Linked DNA regions of Homo sapiens: all the other regions are linked to region 4. Evidence: promoter capture Hi-C in 16 types of primary human blood cells and fetal thymus (Javierre and others, 2016). All regions are on one chromosome and are shown on one strand. The core of a region is centred on a gene start or on the middle of the fragment in contact, and the rest is flanking DNA. Distances in the headings are between cores, read along the strand shown. Region 1 overlaps GART (phosphoribosylglycinamide formyltransferase, phosphoribosylglycinamide synthetase, phosphoribosylaminoimidazole synthetase). Region 2 overlaps TMEM50B (transmembrane protein 50B). Region 3 holds the start of TMEM50B (transmembrane protein 50B). Region 4 holds the start of OLIG1 (oligodendrocyte transcription factor 1). Region 5 overlaps IFNGR2 (interferon gamma receptor 2).

The links. The method cuts DNA at HindIII sites, captures the fragments that hold promoters and counts their contacts. A CHiCAGO score of 5 or more calls a contact.
Region 1: a fragment that was not itself captured here is called in contact with the fragment with the promoter of OLIG1 in region 4 in 1 of 17 cell types (neutrophils); the score reaches 5.3 in neutrophils.
Region 2: a contact is called between a fragment that was not itself captured here and the fragment with the promoter of OLIG1 in region 4, in 2 of 17 cell types (naive B cells and monocytes). The highest score is 5.3, in naive B cells.
Region 3: a contact is called between the fragment with the promoter of TMEM50B here and the fragment with the promoter of OLIG1 in region 4, in 8 of 17 cell types (neutrophils, monocytes, naive CD8 T cells and 5 more). The highest score is 18.3, in neutrophils.
Region 5: a fragment that was not itself captured here is called in contact with the fragment with the promoter of OLIG1 in region 4 in 1 of 17 cell types (monocytes); the score reaches 5.3 in monocytes.

The regions. Positions count from the first base shown.
Region 1 is chr21:33,536,498-33,539,197 of GRCh38, reverse strand. It overlaps GART (phosphoribosylglycinamide formyltransferase, phosphoribosylglycinamide synthetase, phosphoribosylaminoimidazole synthetase), which reads left to right. Exons shown (of 22, transcript NM_000819.5): 2 at 1-27. Among named protein-coding and RNA genes, the nearest start is that of GART, 4.3 kb to the left of the region's middle. The HindIII fragment of the contact is 192 bases long and covers 1,301-1,492 here.
Region 2 is chr21:33,458,094-33,460,793 of GRCh38, reverse strand. It overlaps TMEM50B (transmembrane protein 50B), which reads left to right. Exons shown (of 7, transcript NM_006134.7): 5 at 289-381. Among named protein-coding and RNA genes, the nearest start is that of TMEM50B, 21 kb to the left of the region's middle. The HindIII fragment of the contact is 2,951 bases long and covers 1-2,700 here.
Region 3 is chr21:33,478,609-33,481,308 of GRCh38, reverse strand. It overlaps TMEM50B (transmembrane protein 50B), which reads left to right and starts at 1,335. Exons shown (of 7, transcript NM_006134.7): 1 at 1,335-1,471. The HindIII fragment of the contact is 5,416 bases long and covers 1-2,700 here.
Region 4 is chr21:33,068,771-33,071,470 of GRCh38, reverse strand. It overlaps OLIG1 (oligodendrocyte transcription factor 1), which reads right to left and starts at 1,330. Exons shown (of 1, transcript NM_138983.3): 1 at 1-1,330. The coding sequence starts at 1,224. The coding sequence ends at 409. The HindIII fragment of the contact is 4,947 bases long and covers 1-2,700 here.
Region 5 is chr21:33,429,027-33,431,726 of GRCh38, reverse strand. The region is part of intron 4 of IFNGR2 (interferon gamma receptor 2); the gene reads right to left. Among named protein-coding and RNA genes, the nearest start is that of IFNGR2, 27 kb to the right of the region's middle. The HindIII fragment of the contact is 9,279 bases long and covers 1-2,700 here.

The DNA.
Region 1 (2,700 bases), core at 147-2,646, 470 kb before region 4:
CCTGCTCTGAAAAGATTTCAAATACCGGTAATCATGTTTTAAAGTGGGGAGTAATAGTTATTATTTGTTATTAATGGTATGCTGTCAACCATATCTGTACTTTATGTTAATAAAGATAGGCTGGGCACAGTGGCTAATGCCTGTAATCCCAGCACTTTGGGAGGCCGAGATATGCGGATCATGAGGTCAGGAGATGGAGACCATCCTGGCTAACATGGTGAAACCCCGTCTTTACTAAAAATACAAAAAATTAGCCGGGCGTGGTGGCGGGTGCCTGTAGTCCCAGCTACTCGGGAGGCTGAGGCAGGAGAATGGCTTGAACCCAGGGGGTGGAGCTTGTAGTAAGCTGACATCATGCCACTGCACTCCAGCCTGGGCGACAGAATGAGACTCCATCTCAAAATAAAATAAAATATAGACTACTATTCAGGGTTGAGTGCTTTCCTTGACCTTAAAATTTATTTGGTAATTTGAATGCTTGCCAATATGTTATAAACTTAAGGTAACCTATTGTTCAGAATATGGCATTTCCTTATCTTAAACTGTTTTAAACCTGATAAAACACATCCATTGGAAAAGTAGTAAGTGCCTAATACAGATTAAAGGCATTTTGTTGTGTATTTTTGTAAATGGAAAGTTTAGTATTGCTATTAAATACAACTTGCGGCCACGTGCAGTGGCTCACGCTTACAATCCCAGCACTTTGGGAAGCCAAGGCAGAAGGATCTCTTGAGCCCAGCAGTTTGAGACTAGCCAGGGCAATGTAGTGAGACCCGATCTCTACAAAAAAAAAATACAAAAATTAGCCAGGCATGGTGGTGCACATCTGTAGTGCCAGCTACTTGGGCAACAGAGTAAGATGAGAACCTGTCTCACAAAACAAAGTTTTTAACAGTTGTTACTCTAATAGATCTCAACCCTTATCTCTCTCTGACTTTTTTTTTTTTTTTTTTTTTGAGACAGAGTCTCACTCTCACCCATACTGGAGTGCAGTAGCGTGATCTCAGCTCACTGCAACCTCTGGCTCCTGAGTTAAAGCGATTCTTCTGCCTCAGCCTCCCGAGTAGCTGGTACTACAGGTGCATGCCGCCACACCCAGCTAATTTTTTGTTTTTTTAGTAGAGACCGGGTTTCACTATGTTGGTCAGGCTGGTCTCAAACTCCTGACCTCAGGTGATCTGCCCGCCTCAGCCTCCCAAAGTGCTGGGATTACAGGCATGAGCCACCGTGCCCAGCCTCCACCCTTATCTCTCAATTGGCAAAAATGAAAAAATGGTCAGTTCATATACTACATTAAGCTTGTCAGTGGCTTCAGAAACTCCTCAGTATTCTAATAATACTCAGAATAAAACTCAAATTCCTTACCATGCCTTTCAAAGCCCTTTGTGCAGTCTGTCTTCTGCCTGCTCTTCCAGCCTGATCTTTTATATCCCTTTTTCTCTTTTCACTATACCCTATCCATGCTGTCCTACCAATTTCCCAAGCAGAAGCTTGCTGCTTTGGACTTTATATTTGTTCCCACCCCTTACTATGACTGTCTCCTCATTATTCAGAGCTCCACTTAAATGTTAGCCTCCTTAATTATATCTCTCCTACAGTTTCTTACTAAAAGCAAGTGTCCATCCCCATTTCATTTGTTTATGATCATGAATGTCTGTGTTTATTTTTACTTCACTATTGTCTGTCTTCTATGTTCTTTTCCTCCACTAGAATATAATCTCTAGTAGAATGTAAGCTCCATGAGGGCAAGGAACTTGTCTGTCTTGTTTTGCATGGTGTGCACAGTGCTTAGTTCCCTATGTGGCACATAATATTTATGGAAAGAAGAGCATGGACCCAACAAGCCACAAACTGGGAGAAGATAGTGGCATGTATATAAGACCAAAAGGAATAATACAAATTAGCAAATACCTCCTTTTCTGGGATCTTAATTCTACGGGTGAGATATTTGTTTATTAGAGAACTAGGACAGTTTATCTGCGATTGAGGTCATACAGGCAAGCCCATCAAAATCTCTTAAGATCATCATGAGACTACTACAAGTAGTCTTGTAAGACTACTAAAGAGACCTCTTCCTCTTGTTGCCCTCTGCTATACTGATATAGTTGACGCTGCTCAGCCTAGTTGTGTTCAGAACCACTAACCCACAGTGCGTGGTACTCCATCCTAATCACATTCAGGCAGTTGCTGCAGATTGAGGACCCTACCTTTTCTGGACTTGGACCCTATACAGTAGTCACCAGCCTATCCACAATTTTACTTTCCACAGTTTCAGTTACCCACAGTCAGCTGTAGTCCAAAATATTAAATGGAAAATTTCAGAAATAATTCATAAATTTTACATTGCACACCAGTCTAGCATAGCATGATGAAATTTTGTGCCGTCCAACCTGAGACGTGAATCTTTTTGTCCAGCATATCCATGTTGTTACTTACTAGCCCTGTTGGTTATCAGATTGACTATCATATTATCTCAGTGCATGTGTTCAGGTAACCCTGTTTTACTTAATAATGGCCCCAAAGCTGATGCTGGCATATAGTTATAATTGTTCTATTTTAGTATTAGTGATAGTTAATCTCTTACTGTGCCTAATTTGTAAATTAAACTTTATCATAGGTGTTTATGTATAGGAAAAAACATACTATATATATAGCGTTCAGCACTGTGGTTTCAGGCATCCACTAGGGATCTTAGAATGT
Region 2 (2,700 bases), core at 120-2,619, 390 kb before region 4:
ATTTTGGTAATATATACAACAGTGTAATTTTTTAATTAGGGCATTCGTTTCTCTAGTCAGTAAAAAGGTAACTTTCTTTTTTTCCTTTTCCATGTATGGTTTAACTTCTTTTAGTGTTTTTTTTTTAAATCATCATTCATTTAACTTACAGCAGATTTATATAAATATATGACTATCTTTGATATGCATAATATATACTAGGCTAACAGGGCTCCTAGTATTATGTATTCCTAAGACGTTACAGAGCTGCAAAAATGAACAAAATCATAAAGCCTCTTCTCTACACAGGTGCTCGAGTTTGGCTTTTCATTGGTTTCATGTTGATGTTTGGGTCACTTATTGCTTCCATGTGGATTCTTTTTGGTGCATATGTTACCCAAAGTAAGTATATATTCTTCTTGTATTTTATAGGAGAGATTCAGATATGTCTTTTATATTTGGCTTACTCTACCTTGAGTACAACTTAGTATAATTGTTCACTTAGATTGAAGATACTGCTCTGTGTGAAGATACATGAGTTTAATAAAACTTGTCAGTGGGAACACTTAGTGCAGTAGGATAGCCCTGGTTAGGAAATCCAAGCCACTGACAAAGCTGGTACCTCTCAGCTGTCTCCAGACTTTCTGCTTTCCTTCTTTACCTTAGACAGCCAGGATTTTATGCTAGAGGCCCATTTACTGGGAGTTGCAGTAGAAAAAGTGAGAAACCAGTACAGGTGTACACTCCCTTATATACAATTCTAAAATCCACAAAATGCTGAAAATCAAGTTATTTATAACTAGTCTGGCAGCAAAACCTGACCTAAACTGACATGGAGCTCACTATTTTCTTTATCCCATTTAGTGTAAGTATTCAAATGTTTTATTGTAGGAATGAAAATAGATATATTAGATTATAGGATGTGCTTGTCTATACCCAGCTGGCGGTGCTATGTAGTATATGTGCTTTCCCTTACTGTTCTTAAACCTGAAGAATTCTGAATCCCAAAATATATCTTGCCCCAGGGATTTCAGATAAGGGGTATAGACCCCTTATCTGATAATCTATGGATTGCCAGTAGATAATCTTTCGTTTCATTGACACCTTCTCTCTCCAACCTAATCCTGTAATTTTTTTTTTTTTTTTTGAGACGGAGTCTCACTCTGTCACCCAGGATGGAGTGCAGTGGTGTGATCTCGGCTCACTGCAACCTCCGCCTCACAGGTTCAAGTAATTTGCCTGTCTCAGCCTCCCAAGTAGCTGGGATTACAGGTGCACGCCACCACACCCAGCTAATTTTTGTATTTTTTTAGTAGAGACAGGGTTTCACCATGTTGGCCAGGCTGGTCTCAAACTCCTGACCTCAAGTGATCCACCCATCTTGGTCTCCCAAAGTGCTGGGATTACAGGTGTGAGCCACCATGCCCAGCCAATCCTGTAATTTTTAAGTCATGGGTACAGGGGGAGTTTTTTAAGGGCAAGACTGAACACATATGTATACTCTTCATACAGAAACAGCTGATGGAGTGGGATGAGCTCTTATTACACCATGCTGAAATCTGTGGCTCTGCCAGGTGCCATAGCTTTTCATTCACAGTAGTGATGAAAAATAGAACCCAGTTTCAGAAATGTCTCTGGAAGCGTCGGAAGACTGTTTCACTGGCCCTCTTCCTTTGCTCCTAAGACAGGAGTCAGTTTCAGAGAACGCAATTTATTCATCCTCTGACTCCTCTACCTCTGGAATCTCTTTGTCAGCCTTCTTTGCTTAACTGTCACATCTCCTTGTCCTGACTCACAGCTGGTTTTTGAATACTTTTGATAGTATCATTTAAGTCTCATAGTTTGATCAGTATAAGATCTTTGGAATACTTTTGTTTTTCTTTTGTCTTTCACTTGATACAAAATAAGTCAGATTACAAGAGGACAGTGGTTGGCTTAAATAACATTGGTCACCAACTGTATCTAAAATGTGTTTTTTAGTTAATTAAAAATACTACTAGAGCACATAATTCTGGTATGAAGCATATCTGAAGGAAAATGCTTTTTTAAAGATAGCTTCATTGAGATATAATTTGCATACCATATAATTCAGCCATTTAAAATATGCAGTTCAGTGTTTTTAGTATTTTCACAGAATTATGCTACCATCATCACAATCCAATTTGAGAATATTTTTATCACTGCCATACCCATTAGCAGTCACTCCCCATTACTCCTTCCCCTAGCCCTAGGCAGCCACTAATGTACTTTCTGTCTGTATCTATTTCATACACATGGAATCTTATAGGAAAGTGTTTTTTTGAGACAGAACCTTGCTCTGTCGCCCAGGCTGGAGTGCAGTGGCGTGATCTCGGCTCACTGCAACCTCTGCCTCCCAGGTTCAAGCAATTCTCCTTTCTCAGCCTCCTAAGTAGCTGGGACTGCAGGTGCATGCCACCACGCCCAGATAATTTTTGTATTTTTAGTAGAGATGGGGTTTCACCATATTGGTCAGGCTGGTCTCGAATTCCTGACCTCAGGTGATCCACCCACCTCAGCCTCCCAAAGTGCTGGTATTACAGGCGTGAGCCACTGTGCCCAGCCGGAAAGTGTGTTTTAAACTCATTTTATCCCTGACTGTAAGAAGGGTGGGCTGCTGTCACTGATTTTCTTAAAAGGTCTCCATAGTTATGTTAAAGAAAAACTTTAGATAAATTAGCAATTTGAGCAAACCAAGAAGAG
Region 3 (2,700 bases), core at 86-2,585, 410 kb before region 4:
CTCTTCTGGTGGAATGCCAGCATTGTGACATATTTCAAAAGTAAATTATTCAGCACATATTTATTGAACACCTAGATCCTAGCCCATGTATAAGAGCTATAGGAGAACATTATCCAGGATGGCATTTTTGGTGATAATTCCATGATACAAAACCTTTTACTTCATTATGCCTCAAGTAAAATGCTTTTTAGATTTCCACTGATAATAACTCTACTTGGCTGGGCACAGTGGCCCACGCTTGTAATCCCAGCATTTTGGGAGGCAGAGGCGGGTGGATCACCTGAGGTCAGGAGTTCAGGATCAGCCAGGTGAAATCCCGTCTCTACTAAAAATACACAAATTAGCCAAGCATGGTGGTGCGCACCTGTAATCCCAGCTACTCGGAAGGCTGAGGTGGGAGGATTGATTGAGCGTGGGAGGTAAGAGGCTGCAGTGAGCCAAGATCACACCACTGCACTCCACCCTGGACAACAGAGCAAGACCCTGTCTCAAAACAAACAAACAAACCACCCAAAAAACAAAGCTCGACTTTCCCCCAAACAACTAAATGGTTATAGGCATTTCTGTAGGAAATTTAGACGGGGCTTCCAAACGCTGTTAAAGTTATGTTGAAAATCCAAGAGGCTGAAAGATATCTGACTATAAGAAAGACGAAAAAAAAAAAAAAAGACAAAAATCTACGTGAATAGACGGGAGAGCGCCGAGCGAAATCAGAAGACTAGTTGTATTGTGAGGATCACCTCGGGTAACCAGCACTCGCTGGGTAGCCCTGGTTTACTAACTTCAACTTTCTGGGGCTCCATTTCTGAATTGAGGGGATTAGAAAAAGGCATCTCTAAAGACCCTCCGTTCCCGAGAACCCTCCCGGAGCACCTTCCCTACTCTGGGCAGCTCGCAGACAGACAAGACTGATCGGCCATAGGCGAAGGGAAACCCTGGTCCCCCGGGTCTCGAGCTCCGTCCGCACGTAATCTCACGGTACTGCACTTCAAGTCAGCGTGCAGAAACGCAGCAGTGGGAGCCCGGCGGCGGCCGCCCACCGGCAGGGGACAGGAGAGGCCCGTCCCGCTCTGCCCGGAACCGTAGATAGCTGGGTCTGAACTCCGGCTCCGGGAGGCCTGCAGAGCAGCCCACCCCGTCCCTCGGAGCTCGCCCTGCCCCCGGCCGGCCACTTGCTGCACGCCGATTGGTCGCGAGGAGCGCCCGGCGTCCCGCTGCGCCCAGCCAACGCCCTCTCCCCGCCCCCTCGCGTCCCGCCCCGCCCCCGGCCGGCCACTTGCTGCGCTCCGATTGGTCGCTGCGGTGCACACGGCGCCTCGCCCCGCCTCACCGGCGCTCTATCCTCGCGTCTGCTCCCAGCTCCGGGCTCCCGGGGCTGAGGTGGAGCCGCGGGACGCCGGCAGGGTTGTGGCGCAGCAGTCTCCTTCCTGCGCGCGCGCCTGAAGTCGGCGTGGGCGTTTGAGGAAGCTGGGTGAGTCCTGTCTGTGGGTCTCCGGCGCCAGGCAACCGTAGAGGGCTCGCGCCCGCCGCCCGCGCGTAAGGAGGCTCCCTCGTCGGGCCCTGTCCGGCCCGGCCTTCTGGGGGCTGTGGGGCCGTCCAGCCGGGTTTTCCCTGCGTTCGGCGCCGGCCTGCAGACTCGGGCCCGCGGAGCCCCCGCCGCCCCTTCTTGCCCCTGCCCGCGTCCCTTCGGGCCGACCGTGACCGTGGCGCCGCCGCGACCCGCAAGCAGCCCGGGGAGGCTGCCCTGCCGCGCTGTCACGCCGTCAGGTTGCGTTCCTGGGGAGGGCTGGAGAGGCTCCATCTCGTGCCTTTCACCTTCTCGCGCGGCGGGCACGGAGGCGACGGTTTTCGGGACGCCCTGCTGCGGCCGCGACGCCCTCCCGAGGCCGGAGCGAGGGCCCCGGGGCGGCTCCAGCCCTTCTTCGCCCCTCCCGTTTGCCCCGAACCATTGCTAGGAGCCTGTGTTTTCTGCACTTTTCTGATTTCATTCTTACGAGAGTCAAGTACAGAGGCGGGAGGGGAAAGGGAAGGGGAACAACATTCTTTCGAGAATTATAAACCTTGAGCTCCGTTAAATAAGTAGCAGCAGAGCATTGTCACTGGAGCAGTGGTAGTCGCGGGTAGGACCGTTTCGGTTTTTAGCCAATAGGCTGGTTAAAGGTACTTAAAACAGTAAGTTGGAAGGTGCTGAAATTCTAAGGTAAATACGTGACCTTTCAAAACCAAAGCAGTGAGACGGGCTAGGCTGGGCTGCTCCCCGCTGCGCGTGCCTGGGTCGGGGGGTGCGGAGGGGCAGGGGGCGGAGGCCTCGGACGGGACGGGGTGGGAGGGAAGTGGCATCCGCATCGTCTTACATCGCGCTGTAAGACCCGATTTTCTCTTTTCGGAGGATCCCATCTCCCTTCTCAGACTCTTCATCCTACCTGCACTGTGGATCCCTTGACACTTCAGAGGCTCTGAACTCTCAGGCCGGTCACACTTTTTCATCATTTTGTTTCTTGTCTTTTAAACCTGCATGCATTTCAAACGTAGAGCAAACATTAAACTTTTTTTTTAAACTGAAGATAGTGGTGCAAGACTTTGTTATTGAAATGCAAACCAAAAGTTATCTTGAATATTTATCGCGCTGGAAAAGCAGGTTTAATTAGAGTGAGGTGGGGACGTATATTTCTTCTTCCGGAGACACAGCCTTCCCACTCA
Region 4 (2,700 bases), core at 81-2,580:
GCTCCGCTCCGGGGAGGTAGCGCTCGGGGATGGCCTCTCGCTGCACCCGGGGCGCGCCAACCACGGCAAGGCGCCCTAAGTTCTACATCGGCCCCGCGAAGCGCGCAACTCCAGGGACAAGGAGAGAGATGTGCTGGGTGAGAGCGAGCACTTTCTGCCTAAAGCCGCTGGAACCGACCCAGAACCCCAAACTGCCCCGAGGCGCCATCGAACATCCGCTCTGGTCACTTTAACGTCCCAGGGGTGGGGGCGGGGAAGGGGGTGCCCGACAGTCCCTTCCTCTGGACTGGAAGGTTCGAAATGCTTTCCTTGCTCGGCCTCGCTCTCCCAGACGCAGGGAGCAGGGGCGCGGAGAAGCTGAGCGAAGGGAGGCCGGGCCGAGGTCGCGCCCCAGGCCCAGGCCCGCCCTCACTTGGAGAATTGCGCCTGCACGGCGGCCAGGCCCAGGCTGGCCGGGACCAGGTGCGGGAACTTGCACACGGCGCAGGTGCAGAGGCCGGGGCCGCCTGCGCCGCCGCCGGGGAGAGCGAACTGGCCGCACGGCGGCTCGTCCAGCGCCAGCGACAGGTACTTGGCGGGGCGCAGCGCGTCGGGGGGTCCTACGGCGCCGGGCGCCAGCAGCACGGAGCCGGGCGCGGCGGCGAGCAGGGGCAGCCCGGCCAGCAGCAGGCGCGGCGCGGCGGGCCCGGCGCCCTCGCCCAGCGCGCGGCGCAGCTCCTGCAGCGAGCTGCCCAGCAGTAGGATGTAGTTGCGGGCGAGCAGCAGCGTGGCTATCTTGGAGAGCTTGCGGCCGGGCGCGCCCTGGCAGTGCGCCGCTGAGTAGGGCAGGATGACCTCGCGCAGGGCGTCCATGGCCAGGTTCAGGTCCTGCATGCGCTTCCGCTCGCGGCTGTTGATCTTGCGCCGCAGCTGCTGCTGCTGCTCCTCCTTGGCGTCCGGCCGGGCGCTGCCGCCCGGGTGCGCGCCTGACCCGGGCCCGGGGCCTGGAGGCTCGGCCGGCGCCTCCGGCTTCTCGCGCGCAGCCTTGGGGAGGAGGGGGGCCGTCGTGGAGGAGGAGGAAGTGGAGGAGGTGGAGGAGGTGGAGGAGGAGGAGGAGGAGGGCGGCTGCCTGTAGCCCACCAGCTCGTAGAGGGAGGCCCCGAGCTGCAAGTCTCCGGGCCGCTGTGGCCGCAGCATGGTCCCGGGGACCGCGTTCACGCGCGCCTGGGAAACCGCATAGTACATCTGGGAGGCGGTGGGGGCGGCCGAGGACGCCCTTCAGGAACGCCCTGGGGTGGGCCGGTCGGCAGGCCGCCCCTCCCCGCGGACCTGCGCGCGGGGAAACGATGGTGGGGCCCTGGCCCGCGCCCTACCCCTTTAAACCCGGCTTGGGAACCTGCGGGGCAGCGGGTGGCGGGGCGCAGCCAATGGAGGCGCGAGGCCGGGCGCAGCCGCGTGTTCATTGGCTGCTTGTGCCGGGGCCGCGCGGAGGTGCGGCTGGCACCGCTTTAGGAGGTTATTGTGAGCGCCTGTGCCAGCCGCGCGGGACAGGCCCCCTGAGCGGAGTAAGGGCGCCTTTTCAAGGCAAGCGGGGCTGTTGAAGGAGGACTGGTCGCACTGGTCAGGCTGCAACTCACGTGCCTTCCTCCAGCAACTGTCTACTCAAAAACAACCTCCCTCATATTTTTTTTTAACTGTGATCACATATTCATAACATAAAATTTACCGTCTTATGTTTAGAGTACTGTTCAGTAATGTTATATGCATTAGTGTGCACATTAAATTGATTTAAATTAAATTCACATTGTTGTGCAACCCATCTCCAGAACTCTTTTCAACTTGCAACCCTGAAGCTCCACCCATTAAACAACTCCCCACTCCCCCCGACCCAAGTTCCTGGAATTCACTCTTCTGTTCTGTCTCTATGAATTTGTTCTACTCTAGGTCCCTCATATAAGTAGAATCATACAGCACTTGTCTTTTAGTGACTGGCTTCTTTCACTTAGCATATTGTCGTCAAGGTTTATCCATGTTGTAGCATGTATCAAAGTTTCTTCCTTTTCAAGGCTGAATAATATTCCAGTATATGGATATACCACATTTGGTTTATCCATTCATTCGTTGATGGACATTTGGGGTGCTTTTGGTTGTTGCGAATTATGCTGCTATGAACATGAGTGTATCATGTTTTTTTTTTCTTAAAATACATAATTTCCTGCCAGGTTCAGGTCGCTAAATTTCTGGACTAAATGACAAGTAGCATTAGGATATTTCCTCCCTGCTGCTCCCAACCTCCTTCCCCATCCCTCTGATTGAAAGGTCTTTAGGGACAAAGGAGCCTTTGGGTCGGGTTTCTATCCTCCCCGAAAGGGATGGTCTATCAGCAACTTGACATTTGCTTAAGCAAAAGTCACTCAGAAATTGGCCTCTTATTAGAAACAAAACAAAACACCCACATAGTCCTATCGGTTGAGGGTGGGAATGAATCATTTTATTTGCCAAATAGAATAGCATTACTTGGTGTCTATGGACATTTTCTGCCCCCAGCACCAGTGCATGCTACTATAACTTGTCAATGTCCTGGGGAAGAGGGCATCTTGGTGGCTGTGCTTGCTGGTTTCAGGGCTGCTTTGTTCTGGTTTTCTTCCACCAATATTTGCCACATGGGTTCACTCTGATCTTTGCTTCTGACCCCCAGCTCTGCCTGTAGCATCCTGCCTA
Region 5 (2,700 bases), core at 41-2,540, 360 kb before region 4:
TGGTGGCACACACCTGTAATCCCAGCTACATGGGAGGCTGAGGGAGGAGAATCACTTGGACCAGGAGGCAGAGGGTGCAGTGAGCTGAGATTGCGCCAGCCTGGATGAAGAGCAAGACTCCATCTCAAAACAAACATTTTGTATTTCTTTTTTTTTTTGAGATGGAGTTTCGCTCTGTCACCAGGCTGGACCGCAATGGTGCGACCTCGGCTCACTGCAACCTCCGCCTCCCAGGTTCAAGCAATTCTCCTGCCTCCAACTCCTGAGTAGTTGGGATTATAGACACCCACCATCATGTCTGGCTCATTTTTGTATTTTTAGTAGAAACAGGGTTTCACCATGTTGCCCAGGCTGGTCTCGAGCTCCTGATCTCAGGTGATCCACCTGCCTCGGCCTCCCAAAGTGCTGGGATTATAGGCGTGAGCCACCGCGCCTGGCCAACATTTTGTATCTCACGGTTAATCTAGATACCTCAAGTTAGTCAACAGAGAAAAAATTATTCTGGGAAATAATGTTCCTTTCATTCCCAACCTGCTTCTAGTTTGACCGAAATGTGCTTGAGCCTCCTATAGTTTCAGCTAAAATGACCTTAAGGATTTATGTCATCAGGAGACAACTGGACCCTAGACTCTAGGAAGGTTCTGTGTCTCCTCTGCGCATCCCTCTGCTGCCTTGAGCAGGCCTTGCTGCCTCCCCACCTGGTCTTCCAGGCAATGGCTCCTGTTGTCCTGGCAAGGCTGTCATTGTCCCATACCAAAGTGGAAAACAGCGATACCCTATTATGGCAGTATAGGGTTTCTTGCAAAGAACTGTTTTCTAATTTTGAGATACAATATAATCCACTACAGCCACATGAAATGGTGGTATAACATATGCTTGAAAACATGGGAAGACAAGGCTGCTAAATTGTTAACTGAAAAAAGGCAGATTATTCAAATACAGAACATGTTGTTATTTTTTAAAATACAAAAATAGGCCAGGCATGGTGGCTCATGCCTGTAATTCCAGCACTTTGGGAGGCTGAGGTGGGAGGATCACTTGAGTCCAGGAGTTTGAGCTTGGGTAACATAGTGAGACCCCCTCCCTCCGTCTCTACAGAAAATAATAATAAAAAAATAAGCTGGTCATGGTGGTGCATGCCTATAAGTCCCAGCTACTCGGAAGGCCAAAGTGGGAGGATGGCTTGAGCCTGTGAATTGGAGGCTACAGTGAGCTATGACTGCACCACTGCACTCCAGCCTGGGTGACAGAGTGAAATTGTCTCTGAAAAATTAAAATTAAAAAATAAAAATATAAAAGTAATTGTATGATCTATGAATAATAGTATTACTTGATGGTTTTACATTTTCTTTTCTTCTGTTTAATGGTGTTGGACTGCCAGGGCAGAGGAAGACACGATTTTAAGGACAAAAATTCCCTTTGGGTTTATTTCAGCATTCAATTGGAATTCCTAAAATTTAGAGTCACAGACTGCAGAAGAGCTAACGTAACAGGCCTAACACTAATGCCCTTTGAAGGGCCTGATTTCCAGGTCAACCCTTAGCTGACATCTGGGAATTTGTGTGCGTTTTTTGTTTGTTTGTTTTTTGAGACGGAGTCTTGCTCCGTTGCCCAGGCTGGAGTGCAGTAGTGTGATCTCGACTCACTGCAACCTCTGCCTCCCAGGTTCAAGCAATTCTCCTGCCTCAGCCTCCTGAGTAACTGGGATCACAGGTGCCCACCACCACGCCTGGCTAATTTTTGTATTTTTAGTAGAGATGGGTTTTCACCATGCTAGCCAGGCCTGTCTCGAACCCCTGACCTCAAGTGATCTGCCTGCCTCGGCCTCCCAAAGTGCTGGGATTACAGGCGTAAGCCACCGCGCCCAGCCTGGGAATTTGGATTTCAAGTTTATCCCTCCCATTCCCAAACTGGTAAGGTGGCTTACCGTCCCTACACTGTTTGCACAATGTGTTTTCTTTATGAGGAACATCTGTTTTCCTTCTGGGAGTCGGAATTTTGGCATACGCTACACAGAGGGTGCGTATGTGGCCAGCCCCCAGAAAAAGCCCTGGGCGCTGGGTCTCTCATAAGCCTCCCTGGCAGACAACAGTTCACATGTGCAGTCACAGCTTGCTGGTGGAGCAATGAAGTGTATCCTGCGTGACTCAGCTCAGGAAGGGCTCCTGGAAGCCTACCCCTGGACACCTGCGGACTTTCCTCCATGTGCCTCTTCCCTTTGCCGATTTTGCTTTGCATCCTTTTGCTATAAAAAATCAGAGTATGGGCCAGGCACAGATGTGGAGGCTGAGACAGGAAAATCTCTTGAACCCGTGAGCCGAGATTGTGGCACTGCACTCTACCCTGGGAGACAGAGTGAAATTCTGTCTCAAAACGAAATCAGAGTGTGACTCTGTGCTGAGTCCTGGGAGTCCTTTGAGCGATCTAGGGTGGGTCTTGGGGACCCTAACACACAGACTCACAGCTGGAACAAAGATCACATTGGTGGCTTTCAGAGTCATTTTCATCCTTGAACCTTTTGATCATGGAAGCCAAGTACAGATGCTCTGGTCAAATGGAGGAAAGGGACTTGGGGGCCCTCACGGCTGCTCCTCTTCACAGGCTCCAGCTTATAGCTCAGTTGTTTCATTTTATACACGAGGAAGCTGCAGCCCAGAGAGGCTAAGTGACATGGTGCTAAGCGGGTCCCAGGCAGTGGAA